Regions from separate parts of the Homo sapiens genome. Here regions 2 and 3 are each linked to region 1. Evidence: promoter capture Hi-C in human tissues and cell types (Jung and others, 2019). All regions are on one chromosome and are shown on one strand. Each heading gives the region's core, a stretch centred on a gene start or on the middle of the fragment in contact. The rest is flanking DNA. Distances are from core to core; before and after follow the strand shown.

Region 1 (4,929 bases), core at 1,670-4,169:
ATTTTACCATAGACAAATGGACAGAAAGAAGAGTTAAGTTCCTACAGCATATTTCTGATAACAAAAGTACCACCAAACTTCTAAATAAAGACTAAAACACTTCCAATATTGAACACTGAAATAATTGTGAACCATACATACATTTAAGAAAGATTAGTAAAAACAAGGAAGAGAATTATTTACCTGCTTATTCCAGTTTAGAGTTCAGTGGCCAGAGCCTGTCCCGGCAGCTCAGGGCTCGAGGCAGTAACCAGCCCTGGACAGGACGCCATCACATCGCAGAGCAGACTCACCCACACCCACAATCGTTCACACTGGGACTACATAGACACAGCAGTTTGCCTAACATGCATATCTTCGGGATGTGGGAGGAAACTGACCGGGGTACCTGGAGAAAACCCAGGAAGACATGGGGAGGACATGCAAATGCCACACAGACGGTGATCCCAGCAGGGAAACAATTTTTTTTCCTCATCAACGTTATAACAGAAGGATGTTATTCAGGGGTCTGCTGTATATGAATAAAATATTTACTCATCATAATTGTACCAGATGTGAGGAATAGGTCTCATTTTACTATTTTATGGAGCTTGGGTGGGCTACTGGGTGACAGACTCGAAATACTGGTTTTCTGATTTCTAATACAATATGTCATATTATTCCCCAAAAGTAAATAAATATATTTGTACAAGTGAAAAATGAAAAGAAAATGTCTCGTGTAGATATGATTCTTAAAGAGGGTATTTGCTATGGATTGCATCCTAATGGGGGCCTCTTTAGGCAGTGGTTTGTTTGTTTGTTTGTTTGTTTGTTTTTTGGAGACAGAGTCCCACTCTATTGCCCAGGCTGGAGTGCAGTGGGGCAATTCGGCTCACTGCAGCCTCCGCTTCTGGGATTCAAGTGATTCTCCTGCCTCAGCCTCTCCAGTAGCTGGGATTACAGGCGCCCGCCACCACGCCTGGCTAATTTTTGTGTTTTTAGTAGATACAGGGTTTCACCATGTTGGCCAGGCTGGTTTCGAACTCCTGACCTCAGGTGATCTGCCCGCCTCGGCCTCCCAAAGTACTGGGATTACAGGCATGAGCCACTGCCCCTGGCCAAGGCCGTCTTTTGATGGCAGCCAATGTCATTAGACTACAACTTCTTCTGTACAAGTTCCCCAAAGTATCAGGGGCTCTCTAAGAGAGTATTACTTATTTCTTTCAGGTCCTGATGGTTTTCTCTTTGGAGTGGTTGTAATAGAGGACCAAGGAAGTTGTGAGCTGTTTTCTGGCTTTTGCTGTAACAAAAGCTTGTTGCTGAAATTGACTATTTCCCCCACTCCTGCATCCCAACACAGCATCCATTATTCTTCCCTTCAGTGCTCTCTTTGCAAAATCAGTCTAGCCTAGGCAGCAGACTTAACATGGTATGCTCCTGTGGGGATTCATACTTTATTTCTGGCTTGCTTTTAGGGTCCCAGGGCAAGTCGATATTAAAGAGATACTAATAAATTGCTAAATGGAAAGGGAGACTAGGACTCAGCTGGCTCCAGGCCTGAGCTTCTGCCTTGTCCCAGAGGGAAGCCAATGTTCACAGCAGGGCACATGGAGTTACCAGTTGTCCACCCAAAGGAACTCTCATCCCCTTCACTAACCAGGGAAAATGTCATATTAAGATTGTCCTCCTGTTGCAGTGAGCCGAGATCATGCCACTGCACTCCAGCCTGGGCGACAGAGCGAGACTCCGTCTCAAAAAAAAAAAAAAAAAAAAAAAAGATTGTCCTCCTTCAATCTTTTTTTACTATTAAATGAGAGCTTTGTATTAAACTATTCAGAATTGGGTTGTCCTTGTTTTTAGGTTCCCACACTATCTCTTTTGAATAAAACATGTTGTTGGGTGACAGCCCTTAGGGTTTTTCTCAAATCATTTCTCATGTGAATCCCCTTCATCCTCACTGTCCTTCCCTTAAGAAACTGGCGTGTGATAATGATGATTTAGAGGTCATTTCTGCTGACCTCATCCCTGAATCAGAGGAAACAGCATGGAGTAAGTTCTAAGTTCGGGGCCCACACCATATCAAATTTAGGCCTGGGGAAGGCAGTATGGCTCTTTCCAAACCCTCCAAAACACTACTGGGCTCCAAGACTGCTCAAGGTCTCACTGATAGTCAAGGCTTGTGCTCCTTTTTTTCAGAAGAGTAAGATTAAAGAAAACCACTGTGAATTAAAAAGTGTGGGTGCCAACATGGGACGGGAGTCCCCCCTCACTCCATGGATGACATAGAGGGGGCAGAAGATTACAGAATTGGCATTGTCCTGCGTGGAAGCTGGGCCACCCACAGTGGCGTGGGAAGCCTCTCAGATGCTGGATTCTAATGGGCTCTTGATCACCTTGGATTGGGCTATTTCATTGTTATCACAAAATAAACAGGATGCTCCAAGTCATGTTATGGCAGAGAACCAACCAGCTTCACACTGGTCCTCTAAACCAATCCTCACAACAGGACTGGGAGACAGGTGTTACCTTTCCCACTTTACAGAGAATGAAACAGAGTGGCAAAGCCTCCGAAGGACCCTACACTTCGGACATCGCAAAGCAGGATCTGAGTCCCGGCTCCTCTGTCCAAACCTACTTGCTAGGCTTTCTTTCCCATGTCTACTCTATAGCTGGAAAGGTCGTGGAGGACACATTTTAGGCCAACCCTCTCGGTTTACAATCCAGAGAGGGGAGACCCTCAGAAGCCAAGCGACATGTCCACGGCTACGCGGCGAGTGTGTGGCAACGTGGAAGGGGAGCCCGAGACGCCCTGGTCTCTCCCTTCTCTCGCAGGTTCCTTTCTCCCCGAACGCAGCCCGCAGGGGACGCTGGAGGAGGAGCTGAGCTGGAGTTGCCGGGGCCCCGGGACCGGGCGTTCCGGGGGCGGTCCCCAGCAGCCGCGCATTCCAGAGCCAGCAGCGCGTCCTGGCCGCTCCTGCGCTCTCCCGCCTCCCGGGGCTCGGAGGAGCCGGGGCACGTTCCAGGAGCTGCCTAGGGCTGAGGTTCCAGGCCTGGGGGTCGCTTCCAGCTGCCAGATCCCGTGCAGTCCTGGGGACCCTGAGAAGCACCGAGCCATCCCTGACCCAGGAACTTTCCGCAGACTCGCCGCCATCTGGGGTGAGTGGGGCCACCGGGGGATTGTTTGTGGGGCTCTGGCAGAGCGGAGCTCTTCGGATTCGCGACCTACCTCTAGTGCGGCCCCTTTCCCCGGGCTCCCAACGTTCTTCTTTATGTCCGGTCTCTCCTCCCCATTTCTCCCTTTTCATCACTTTTGTATTTCTTGCCCTCACCCCCTCCTTTTTCTCCTGCTGTCAGCTCTTAAGTTCGAGCCTCCTAGTGCACAGAATTTTGGGCCTGGGGGAGGCGGAGCTTGGGTGGGCGAACCCCAGCCCCACTCGGAGACTGGCTTCTCTCCGGGTCCGCTGCCCTTGCCTTCTCGGGAAGCCTCCTCCTCGGGCAGACTGCCACCTCCTGGCTCTCCAGGCCCAGCGTCAGGGTTCAGCGCCCGGGCCTGAGCACCTGCTTGGGCGCTGCGCTGGGTTTGGGTCTTTGCACTTACCTGTCCCGCTTTTCTCGAGGCCCCGTGTAGAAGGCGCCAGGAGTTTGGAGTCAGGAGTGGCGGGTTCCAGCCCTGGTTCTGTCACTAACTGCTTCACCATCCTTGTTTTTCCATCAGTGAAATTGGGAAAACATTTTCTGCGTGCAGAAAGCAAAGGAGAAAGGACATGAGCAAAGTATCTTGGAGAGAAGGCTTCCTTCAAGCTCCCTCCTGCTGGTTAGCTGTCCCTTTCCTGAGGACGTAGTTGTTCCAGTTGCTGGTTGTTTTGCTCCCTAGTCTCCCCCATGCCAGTTTCTTGAGGGTAGGGACTGCCTGTCTATCGTCATCTCTGAGGCATTCTCAGCTCTTGGAGCAGGGCCTGGCTAACAGTAGGTGCTCCATACATATGTACTGAGTGAAAGGATGAAAGGTGTAACCCCCCCCGCCCCCCCCACAAATTGAAACAAACCTCAGGGGCTGTTATTCTGATTGAGGGCCAGGCTGGGCTCTTACTTATGCAGCTGCACTTGTTTCTTCTGGACCAGCTGGAATCCTGCTGCACCTGGGGGCTGAGGAGTCTCCGGTTCATCTGTGGTGAATACTAAGGTCCTCAAAGCTCCAGGGTGTGGTGGTGAAGGCTGCGCAATCACACAAGTATCAGAGATTCCTTGAACATCTGCTATGATGCGTGCTGCTACTGCAGTGGCCACATAGTTTGGAAGGATTGGGGATGCCTGAATTAGGTGGAGGTGGGAGCGGGAAGAACAGGTACTCTGGGGGTTAGGAGACCCTCTGAATTACCCTAATGGAGGCATTTCCCCTCTCTGGCCCTTGTCTTCCCTATCTGTAAAATGAAGACATGGGAGTGGAACAGATGTTTGTCTGTGGTTGAGCATGACATGCTCTTTGGTTTATGCAGGCCGCACAGCAGCCATCTAGACACACGCAAAGCAGCACAGCTGAGCTTTAGGACATCATGTGCTTCTGCAGTGACAACTGAAAAAAACTAAAAAGTGTTTTCCTGCTCCAGCCGGGACCTCCTGTTCCCAGCTGTCCTGGGACTGTGAATCATGCTGTGGGGGTTACAAGTCATGCTTCATGAACTCTCCCACAAGTGACCTCTCCGAACCTCAGAACTGTGGCTCCATGACACTAAAGATCTGGGGAGTCCCAGAGAACAGCCAGAGAACCACTGAGTCGCGGTGAGGTGTTAGAGATGCAAAACAAATGAGAGACTCTGGGGGCCTGTGGTCAGGTCAGATCCTGGGCCCTTGGGGGTGACAGACCAAGGGGATAAGGGCCAGTCACAGCCTCAGATGCTTTCTCAGCCATACGCCAATCCTTTAAACGTTGTGCCTCCATTTCTTCTCTAT
Region 2 (4,929 bases), core at 649-3,148, 220 kb after region 1:
AATAATTTTAAAGCCAGCTTGTTTAGTAAAGTTATACTTAAGTCACTTTAACTTAAAAATCGCTTAGGCTTATTAATTTATGAGCGCTCTTTTACTTATAAGCCAATTTGGCAAACATAACATATAAGTGTACATACAAATAAACACATCTAGACATGTATACACACACACAAATGAAGATCTAATAGCTTGAAACCCTAGCCATGAGATAGCAACACAAGCTTACCGGTTTTACTTTGTTTGCCCCAGTAGGTAATGCAATGAAGGCTGTGAACCAAAATTTTGGGTAAAGCAATTTCCATGGCAGTTTGATTTTTTTTGTTTCTTTTTCTTTTTTTTTTTTTTCTTTGAGATGGAGTCTTGCTCTGTAGCCCAGGCTAGAGTGCAGTGGTGCAATCTCGGCTCACTGAAACCTCTGCTTCCCAGGTCCTGGTTCAAGCAATTCTCCTGCCTCAGCCTCCTAAGTAGCTGGGATTACAGGCACGTGCCACCATGTCCAGCTAATTTTTGTATTTTTAGTAGAGATGGGGTTTCACCTTGTTGGCCTTGTTCATGTCTTGAACTCCTGACCTCGTGATCTGCCCGCCTCGGCCTCCCAAAGTGCAGGGATTACAGGCGTGAGCCACCGTGCCCAGATGGCAGTTTGATTTTTTTTGTTTTTGTTTTTGAGACAGAGTCTCACTCTGTTGCCCAGGCTGGAGTGCAGTGGCGTGATCTCAGCTCCCACTGCAGTCTCCGCCTCCCGGGTCTAAGTGATTCTCCTGACTCAGCCTCCTGAGTAGCTGGGACTATAGGCACGCACCACCACGCCTGGCTAATTTTTTGTATTTTTAGTAGAGATGGAGTTTAGTAGAGATGGGGTTTCACCACGTTGGCCAGGATGGTCTTGATTTCCTGACCTAGTGATCCACCTGCCTCGGCCTCCCAAAGTGCTGGGATTACAGGCATGAGCCACTGCACCTGGCCCTAGCAGTTTGATTTTTAAAGGTGAAACCTCCCCAGACTCCAAAGAACACTAAGACCAAACAGTACCAAAGGAGAACATCACTCTTTCACCAGGCCCTCTGCTTAGAATAGCAGCACCAAAGCCTGGATATATGCAATGGCAATGCCATCCCAGTTTTCCATTCAACAGTAAACTCCGCATTCCAAACAATATTGGGGCCAAATAGCATTGCAACTGCGAGATAAAATTCTAAGGAGAGTTTAATACTAGACCTCAGAACCTCTGCCAAGGGCATCCTCTTTGGAGAGGTTGAGGTCCGGAGGATTCCCCTCTGGGGCTTCCCCTAGTGGGGCCCAATCTTAAGAGTGTCAGACGTCTCTGACCTTAGGTGGGCACCAGTCCTGCTTGCATGTTTTCCCTCTAAAGGGAATGGCCTACTATGAGCTTTCATTTTGTCCCTGGATGAAGGCCTTGACTTTTAGCATCCTTATAATTTGATAAGGCCACACTTTCCCATGTTTCCCATTCCATGAACTTAATAACTGGAGGCTGGATGTGTTTCTTTTGCTCTTAGCCAGTTGACTAGGGAAACGGAAGAATTACGCATAAGAAAAGGTTTAAGTTGCCTGAAACAGGCGAGTTTGCTCTGAGCTGTGCCACACATAGGGATCAGGGACCACACCCAGAAAAGATTTAAAAAAGAGTCCTTCTCCCTTCTGGGCAGGGCAATTATCCCCATTCACTCCATGGTCTTCAGGCAATATTGGGGATTGATCCCAGCCAATTTCCCTCAATTTCCAAAGAGCTACTAGGAAACAGCTGCTAAAAGACCAATAAAGAAGAAAAGGAAAAAAAAAAAGAAAAAGACCCAGGTCCCTTAGGCAAACCAGGTGGTGGCGGTTAGGCTTCTTCACATGAAAACCCCTTAGTATTCACCAGCCATGGCCAGAAACCTGCAGTTTACCTCCATGTTTACACGCTGCTCACCAAGGGTCCCGAGTGGGAAAGGAAAAGAGAGAGAGAGATTTCCCTGTATGTAAAAAGGGAAAGGAGAAAAATAAATCCCAAACTTTGGGCTTACCTTCTCCTGGCTGGCTCACCAAAATATGTTACCAGTGGAGGGTGTCCAGGTGCTTGGCATTTTGAACAAAGAATTGGACAAAATGCACAAACAAAGCAAGGAAAGAATGAAGTAACAAAAGCAGAGATTTATTGAGTACACTCCACAGTGGGAGCAGGCCCAAGCAGCCACTCAAGGGCCGGGATACAGGATCTTCTTGGGTCCAAATACCCGCTGGAGGTTTCCCATTGGCCACTTGGTGTTCACGCCATGTAAATAAAGTGGTGGCCCCCAATCAGTCTGATTGTTTGCAGACGGAAACCAATCAGAGGCTGAAGTGAAGTTACAAAGTTACACTCTTAGGCAAACGCCTGGTTGCCAAAAGCAACCAATCAGAGGTATTTTCTTTTTCTTTTTCTTTTTTTTTCTTTTTGAGACGGAGTCTTTCTCTGTCACCCAGGCTGGCGTGCAGTGGCCCGATCTCGGCTCACTGCAAGCTCCACGTCCCGGGTTCACGCCATTCTCCTGCCTCAGCCTCCCGAGTAGCTGGGAGTACAGGTGCCCGCCACCACGCCCGGCTATTTTTTTGTATTTTTAGTAGAGACAGGGTTTCACCATGTTGGCCAGGATGGTCTCGATCTCTTGACCTCGTGATCCACCCTCCTCAGCCTCCCAAAGTGCTGGGATTACAGGCGTGAGCCACTGCGCCTGGCCCAGAGGTACTTTCAATTAACCATCTGCCATGCAGAAAAGGTGGGAGTTTGCAAAGAGAGTAGCCTCTGGTCCTTTTGTTACTTAGGCATGGAAAGTTAGGGTTTTCCTTTCAATGTAGTTCTACGAAGTCAGCGTGAAATGGCCTTAGGTTTCCTATTCTCCTGCCTCACTGGTATCCAAGGGACTCTGCCATTAGGCTAGCTGTGGAGGGATGGAGAGAGAGCTGAGGCCTCAAATGCCAGTATTCCTTCCTTCCAGATTTGCGTGTAAGACCAGATAATCTTCCAGACCAAACAGTATCTGTTGATGAGTATTAGGCTCGAATGAGAAGGAGAGAGAAGTGGAGCACTGGATTGAAGAGAAAGCAAAAAACCTTCCTAGATCAACAAGGAAATAGCCTCTTCTAGAATCCAGATAGGGCCCTGGACTCCTGTGGGATAATGTAGTGGGTGAAAAAATTGGTAGTGAAGTCCTCGGATATGGGGATGCACTTGGAAGTCTTGGGAACAAGGAAGAGAGACATCCTGTGGTGGTGATTTTTAGATCCAACACCCAGGGGCTTGGGTGCCTTTGGGGGGATTAGTAGAAGAGATCGACACATTGAGGGAGGTTCAGGATAACTGTCTGAAAATGAGAGATTTTTATTGCTTATACTGATGTCCCAATAGGGTCTGTATGTGCTTCAAATAGGTAGAAAAGAATGAAGTCCGAGCCTGAAGATAACAATATCAGTCAGAATTTTAGGATTGTGAATACCTGTCCACAGAAATAGCTGGGCCCTGAGCCTCTGCTGATGATGTAGGAATGGAGGCAGTTAATAAGCTTTAAAGTCATAGGGTCTCAGGGCTAGGGTATGGTGAGGACACTTTGCCACCCCTAAGGTTCAAAGCCTCTTGGACTGGAGGAGGTTGTTAACAGATATTCTAGGCAGAAAAGCTGTGTCAGGTTGTGGTGTATGAAGAGGGAGAATTTGACACCAAATGGTCAGCTGGCCATCTGCTCACCTGTTCCCCTGTGCTCCCTACTCCCACAGGGTCTGCTTACAGAACAAGGCACAGCAAGGAGGCAAGACACAAGCAAGAAATGTGCTTGATGTTACCCACTGCAGTCCTTCTTCCACTCTGGAGGATTCTGAAGACTCAGAAGAGGGACAGGCAATGGATTCAGTCTAAACCCCAGGACCAGGACACTGCCTCAGCTTCGAAGCCTGGATGCAATGCTCCAGGGTATAACCACTGCCCAGAAGCACAGCTAGTACAAGCTGCAGCCTCAATCCAGGCAAGGAGCCAACTCCAACAGGTCAGGCTCCAAGGGATGAAGACTGAAAACATGAATGTGTTGTGCCACTAACTCTAGCGTTTGCTTTTCCTTGTGTTTTTGCATGCATTGTAGACCTTGGCATCAGCATTTGGCTAGCTTTAAGACAGAAACTGAGAAGCCTTTTGTGTTTTATGCGTCAACTTGACTGGGTCACAGCATGCCCAAATATTTGGTTAAACACGATTTCTAGGTGCATCTGTGAGGATTTTCTGGACGAGACTAATATTTGAATTTGAATCAGTGGACTAAGTAAGGCAGACTGCCCTCCCCAGTGTGGGTGGCCCTCATCCTTCTCTCTGCCTGACACTCTTCTAGCTGGAACATTTGTCTTCTCCTACCCTCGGACTCAGACTATGACTGGAATTGATATCATTGACTCTCCTAGTTCTTCAGACTCAGATTGCTCTCCCGGGACTTCTCAGCTTCCAAATCACATGAACCAATTCATTATAGGAAATTTTTTTATATATCCTATTAATTCTGTTTCTCTGGAGAACCCTGATTAATACAGATTTATTTTCCTACACTCCAGTAACTCTCCACTACTCCCTCCCTCAACCCCTGGTAACTATCCTACTTTCTGTCTCTATAAATTTGACTATTCTCAGTACCTCATATAAGAGGAATCATGCAGTATTTGTCCTTTTGTGACTGGCTTATTTCATTAGCATAATGTTTTCAAGGTTTATTCATGTTGTAGCATGTATCCAAATTTAATTCCTTTTTGAGGCTGAATGATACTCCATTGTATGTATATACCATATTTTGTTCATTCATCCATTGATAAACATGTTGTTCCCACATCTTGGCTATTAGGAATAATGTTGCTGTGAACATGAGTGTACAAATATCTGAGTCCTTGCCTTTTTTTTTTTTTTTTGGACACAGA
Region 3 (4,929 bases), core at 848-3,347, 160 kb before region 1:
TGGTGAGTGAGAAAGCACCTGGAGATGAATGAGGGCCTGGAGCCTCTCCTCCATGTCTCTGAATCCACCATCATGGTCAAGGTGTCAGAGCTAGGTTGGAATCCCAGCCTGGCCACTTATTAGCTGTGTGCCTTAGGCAAGAAGTCACTTCACCTATCTGAGCCTCAATTTCCTCACCTCTGAAATGGGATAATAATAAGGTAATTCTCTCATAGGGTTGATGTGAGAAATTACGGCAATAACCTAAGTGAATGACCCAAGATAGAAGAGGTGCTTCTGTTCTTCCCCGGGGGGCAGAAGGTGGGCTTCTTTCTCCTGATTTCCCTGCCACTGAGGCTGCTATAACAGGTGCCTGGTTATCTTTCTGATCCGGATGGTTGTTTGCCTTTCCCCTGGTTGGCTCTGATTTTCCCTGGGGCTTGGTAATGCGCTTATCTCTCTGCCTGCCTGCCAGACTCTCCTGGCACAGTCCCAGCCAGAAACCAAGACCTTGACCCAGCCTGCTGCAGTGGGAGGTGCCTGACCCCTGCTTGGGGGCGGAGGCGTGACCACAGCAGCTGAGGTCAGTCCAGGTCCTCAGGTCACTCATGTCCACAGACTCTCACAATTTTCAGGATTCTCACTGCTCCCCATTTTGCAGTAGGATAAGTGAGAGTAAGAGAGTTCACACTTGCCTGAGTTCACACAGCTAAGTAGCAGCGGAATCCAGTCTTTAAGCAAGATCCCTTGATTCTAGGGTTTCCTCCCAAGTGTAATTGGCCATCTGCTCTGTCTTACGCACTACCTGCCCATCCTGGGCATCTCACCCATCTCCACCCTTTGCCTCCACAAATGATTTCTAGATATTTGTCCCCAGCCTGGAATTCTCCCCTGTTCTCTAGACCCCTATGTGGAACCGCCCACTGCTCATCTCCCCTGGAAATCCAAAACCTAACTCATCTCCCTGCTCCACTAAACAGCTGCTCCTTCTCATTTATTCCTGATCTCTATTAACAAAATCTCTGTCACCAGAGCTAGGAACCTGGGCTGCATCCTAGGCTCCTCCCTCTTCTCCACACCCACTCTCCATCTGCCTCCAAGCCCAGCCAGTTCTTCCACCCAAGTATCTCTCCCATCTACCCCCTCCTCACCACCCCTTACAGAAAGCCTCCATTCCCTCTTGCTTGGATTATCATCATTCTTAACATTTATATAAATAATCATACAATGATTATTGTTGTTCCTGCTATCATTCACAGCTCTCCTCACCACATTTTAAGGCTTCTTTATCCCTCTGCTATATCCCCAGTACTTTTTATGATGTCTGAAAAATAATAGGATCCTAAGAAATTTTTGTGGAATGAAAGAACAGCCAACATGTATTAAGGTATGGCTTAGAAACTGTGCTGAGTCCTCTGCGTGCATTTTTTCATGTAATCCTCAATGCAATGCGAAGTTAGAAATATTACAATACCCATTTTACAGACGGGGAAGTGGAGGTTTAGAGAGGTCCTGTGGCTGGCTTGTTGATCGTCACACAAATGGCAGAGCTAGGATTCTAACTGCAAGCCTGGGCACAGAAACTGAAAGCACACCACTGCACCATCTTCTTTTGTTTTTTTTGGCTGAGTTTCTGCTCTGTTGCCCAGGCTGGAGTGCAATGGGGCGATCTCGGTTCACTGCAACCTCCACCTCCTGGATTCAAGCGATTCTCCTGCCTCAGCCTCCCAAGTAGCTGGGATTACAGGTGCCTACCACTACGCCCAGCTAATTTTTGTATTTTTAGTAGAGACAGCGTTTCACCATGTTGGCCAGGCTGGTCTTGAACTCTTGACCTCAGGTGATCCACCCGCCTCGGCCTGCCAAAGTGCTAGGATTACAGGCATGAGCCACCACCCCCGGACTGCACAGTGTTTCTTGTTGCACAATCTCCTCCAAGGGCTCCTATCCCCAGTTTGCATCTTAGGTCACACCACTCCTGTGATTCCTGTGGTGTAGGTACCTTTGCTGGGATATGAGTGAATTCTTTCTAGGTGGTGTCTAGATACGTGTTGTTAAATAACTAGATATTTATTTAATGTGCATTGGGGGAAAAGGACTGAGCACAATATACTTGTGGTTTCTCTGCAAATATTGCTTAAGATAATTCTAAAGTAATAGAAGTAAGTGATTTCAAGTTGATTAATGGAAAAATATTAGATAAAGTTTCAGGTAGCATGAGGATGTGGTGAAAATCCAGGATGTTAAATGACTGGAGCTTTCGAAACACTTCCCTATGGAAGTGTGGAACCTGCACCCCAAATGCCGACCAGTTCTCAGGGTCACCTGAAGAGGAACAGGCTTCAGAAATTCAGCCTGGAACCCCAAGCGAGCTTTCTCATGTGCTGTTTCTTTCTTCCCTATGCCGATAGATTGCCCCAAAGCGGCCTCACACCAGAGACGGGTTAAGAAGAGGGATTGGAGGTCCACCACTCCACTAGCCCAGGAAGGACTTATCTTTCGTCTCAGCCAGACCTCACCCCAATTCTGTGAATCAGCGGAGGAAGGCAAAAGTGCAGAGAGTCAGAGGAGGCTGTGTAAGGAGCAGAGACCAGGGCTCACACAGCTGGCCCCAGCCCAGGCCCTGGCCCAGGCCCAGGAGCCTGCTTCCCTGCATCGCTGAGGAAGAACAGCACCATGCTGGGTCCTCACCTCCCACCTCCGCCCCTTGCACCCAGCGAAGGGAGGCCTACCCCCTGCGCCTTCCAGATCCCTGATGGAAGCTACAGGTGTCTGGCTCTGGAAGCCGAGGAGAGCAGCGGTGAGGAGGGCCTGCAGGGAGAGGTGGGGCCTACCGACCTGGAAGAGGATGAGGGGGTCAGCAGGAGTGGGGACGACTCTGCCTGCAGAGTCACCCAGGGGACACCGCAGCTGCCCAAAGCCCTGGGCATCCAACCACCCAGCTGCTCCAGAGAGGAACAAGGGGCGTCCCAGCACGACGACAGGGCCAGCCAGGACTGGGATGTAGTGAAGGCCGGGCAGATGATGACAGCCAGCCCCAGCCCTGGCCCTGGGCCCAGAGTGGCCCAGAAACCAGGTAAGCTTGTGTTCCTTTTCCCTTGGACTACCAGAGTCACTGGAGACCCCCCAGGTCCTTAGTACAAGGGCTCCTGACCATATTTTTCCATGATCCACAGTAATTCATCACAGTCCCATGGGCATGCCCAGATTAACAGCTGTGGAGAGATAGGAGCGACAGCGAGCTACGTGCAGTTCCAGCTGCACCACATCTAACCCCACTCCTTTCTCTGCCAAAGAGGGCACGTGAGAAGGCAGTGAGAGAAAGCCACATTATCTTGCTTGGCTAAAAAAAAAAAAAATGCCCATTTCCCACTCTCGTCTGCCTTTTAATCATTAGCGGCAACAAATCACTGCGGTGTCCCAAGCAACCGATGGGGCAGAACCCTCTCATTAAATGGATTGAGTGCTGGCTACGTGGGGGTGCTGGGGACGCGGCACTGGACCAAACGGATGTGGTTGCTGACCTCATGGAGCTTGGGAGGTAGAGACTGAAGCCTTTGATAGAATTTGACCCCCCAATTTTACAGGTGGGGAAACTGAGACTCAGAGTGAGGAAAAAGACAGCTAGAGGTCACTCAGCGTGTTAGTAGTGGCTGAGCTAGGCCCACGTTCCTCGCCTAGGCCTTGGTTTTTCATTTGTTAGAGGTGACAAGGGCAGATAGAACACCACCTAGGCTGCAGTGAGATCCCATGACAGCGTGTGGGGAGAGCACAGTGTGCGCGGCACGGAAGGAAGGAAGGGCAGGAATGATGATAATTTTCCTGCAGCGGCTGCTGTCTGCAGAGCAGGGCGGGACAGGGAAGCCCACGCTGAATCACCTCCACAGCCAGCCCATGGAAACGCTGAAGTGGGTCCAGATGGGGAGGACGTGAGCAGGGCCATGCTCAGCTCAAGCAGGAGCCGCAGCCAGTAGATCCCGGGGGTGCAGGGCATGCGGGGGACACAGTCCCGGGAGGGCTTGTGCGTCAGGAAACTGAAGGAACACTTCATTTCTCTGCAGGCGTCGTTGACGCCCGGCTGGCATCTCACCAGCCTTCCCGCCCACTCTTCTCTCTGAAATAATTCTCTCCAGGCTCTGATCACCCCCCATGGCCACCATTGTCTACCAGGCTGGGGTCACACAGGGGGCTGGGCAGGAGCAAGAAAGGACCTTTAATCCCTCTAGGGCAGGAAGAAGGAGGACCCCAGGGAGGCACTGCAGTCTTGAACTTGGAGGTGGGCCCTCACACCAGAGTCCGCCCAAATTCAGTCTCCTACAGTCTGAAGTTCCCAGGACCTGCTCCCATCCCTCTCACGGGCCCAGGCTGGGGTCAGGAGACATAGATGCTTTCTAGACTGGATGTTGCCGACTAGCCAAGCCCTAGCAAATCCCTTCCCCTTGGTGAGCTCTACTTTCCTCCTCTGTGAAAATAAAATAAAAATATGAGTCTTATCTACCTCAAAGAGCTGTTAGGAGGTTGCAATGATCTTAGTTGTGGCAGTGTTTTGGAAATTTTAGAGTAATCTAGATAGGTATGTAAGAAACGTTTATACCTAATTGAAATGACCATCATCAGCTCAACAATAGGACTGCTATTATTTGTTAGAAGCCTTTATGTGCTAAGCCCTGTGCCAAGAGCTTTACCCTTTTCATTTCATTTAACCTCGTAGCAATCCCCATGAGGGACATACTTTTATTATTTTCATTATACAGATGAGAATATAGAGGCTCAGGAAATATATGTGACTTATCCAAGATGCATGACTAGCAAGCTGCTAAGCCATGATCCAGTCATGGTTTTTTGAACACGAGGCTTGTGCTCTTGGCCACCACTGTCTTCTGGAATTATAGGAGTAAAGTGTTGTCTGCGGACATCTTGGAATGGAAGAGCCCATGGATGGAGAGGACA

The links. The method cuts DNA at HindIII sites, captures the fragments that hold promoters and counts their contacts. A contact is called where the count stands out against the background at its distance.
Region 2: a fragment that was not itself captured here is called in contact with the fragment with the promoter of SMIM3 in region 1 in 1 of the 25 tissues and cell types used here (H1 embryonic stem cells).
Region 3: a fragment that was not itself captured here is called in contact with the fragment with the promoter of SMIM3 in region 1 in 1 of the 25 tissues and cell types used here (aorta).

Annotation. Positions count from the first base shown.
Region 1 is chr5:150,775,838-150,780,766 of GRCh38, forward strand. SMIM3 (small integral membrane protein 3) reads left to right here and starts at 2,920. Exons shown (of 2, transcript NM_032947.5): 1 at 2,920-3,135. LOC124901110 reads right to left here and starts at 4,564. Exons shown (of 2, transcript XM_047417995.1): 1 at 4,070-4,564; 2 at 1-3,714. The coding sequence starts at 3,284. The coding sequence ends at 2,643. RefSeq lists a silencer at 2,815-3,004 and an enhancer at 3,442-4,303. The HindIII fragment of the contact is 12,753 bases long and covers 1-4,545 here.
Region 2 is chr5:150,995,911-151,000,839 of GRCh38, forward strand. LOC105378228 (a long non-coding RNA gene) reads right to left here and starts at 279. Exons shown (of 3, transcript XR_007059002.1): 1 at 227-279. RefSeq lists a silencer at 764-930. The HindIII fragment of the contact is 5,174 bases long and covers 1-4,485 here.
Region 3 is chr5:150,615,713-150,620,641 of GRCh38, forward strand. It overlaps LOC124901108 (a long non-coding RNA gene), which reads right to left and starts at 1,120. Exons shown (of 3, transcript XR_007058996.1): 1 at 1-1,120. It also overlaps a transcript of SYNPO not described here. RefSeq lists a silencer at 417-604. The HindIII fragment of the contact is 4,717 bases long and covers 1-4,456 here.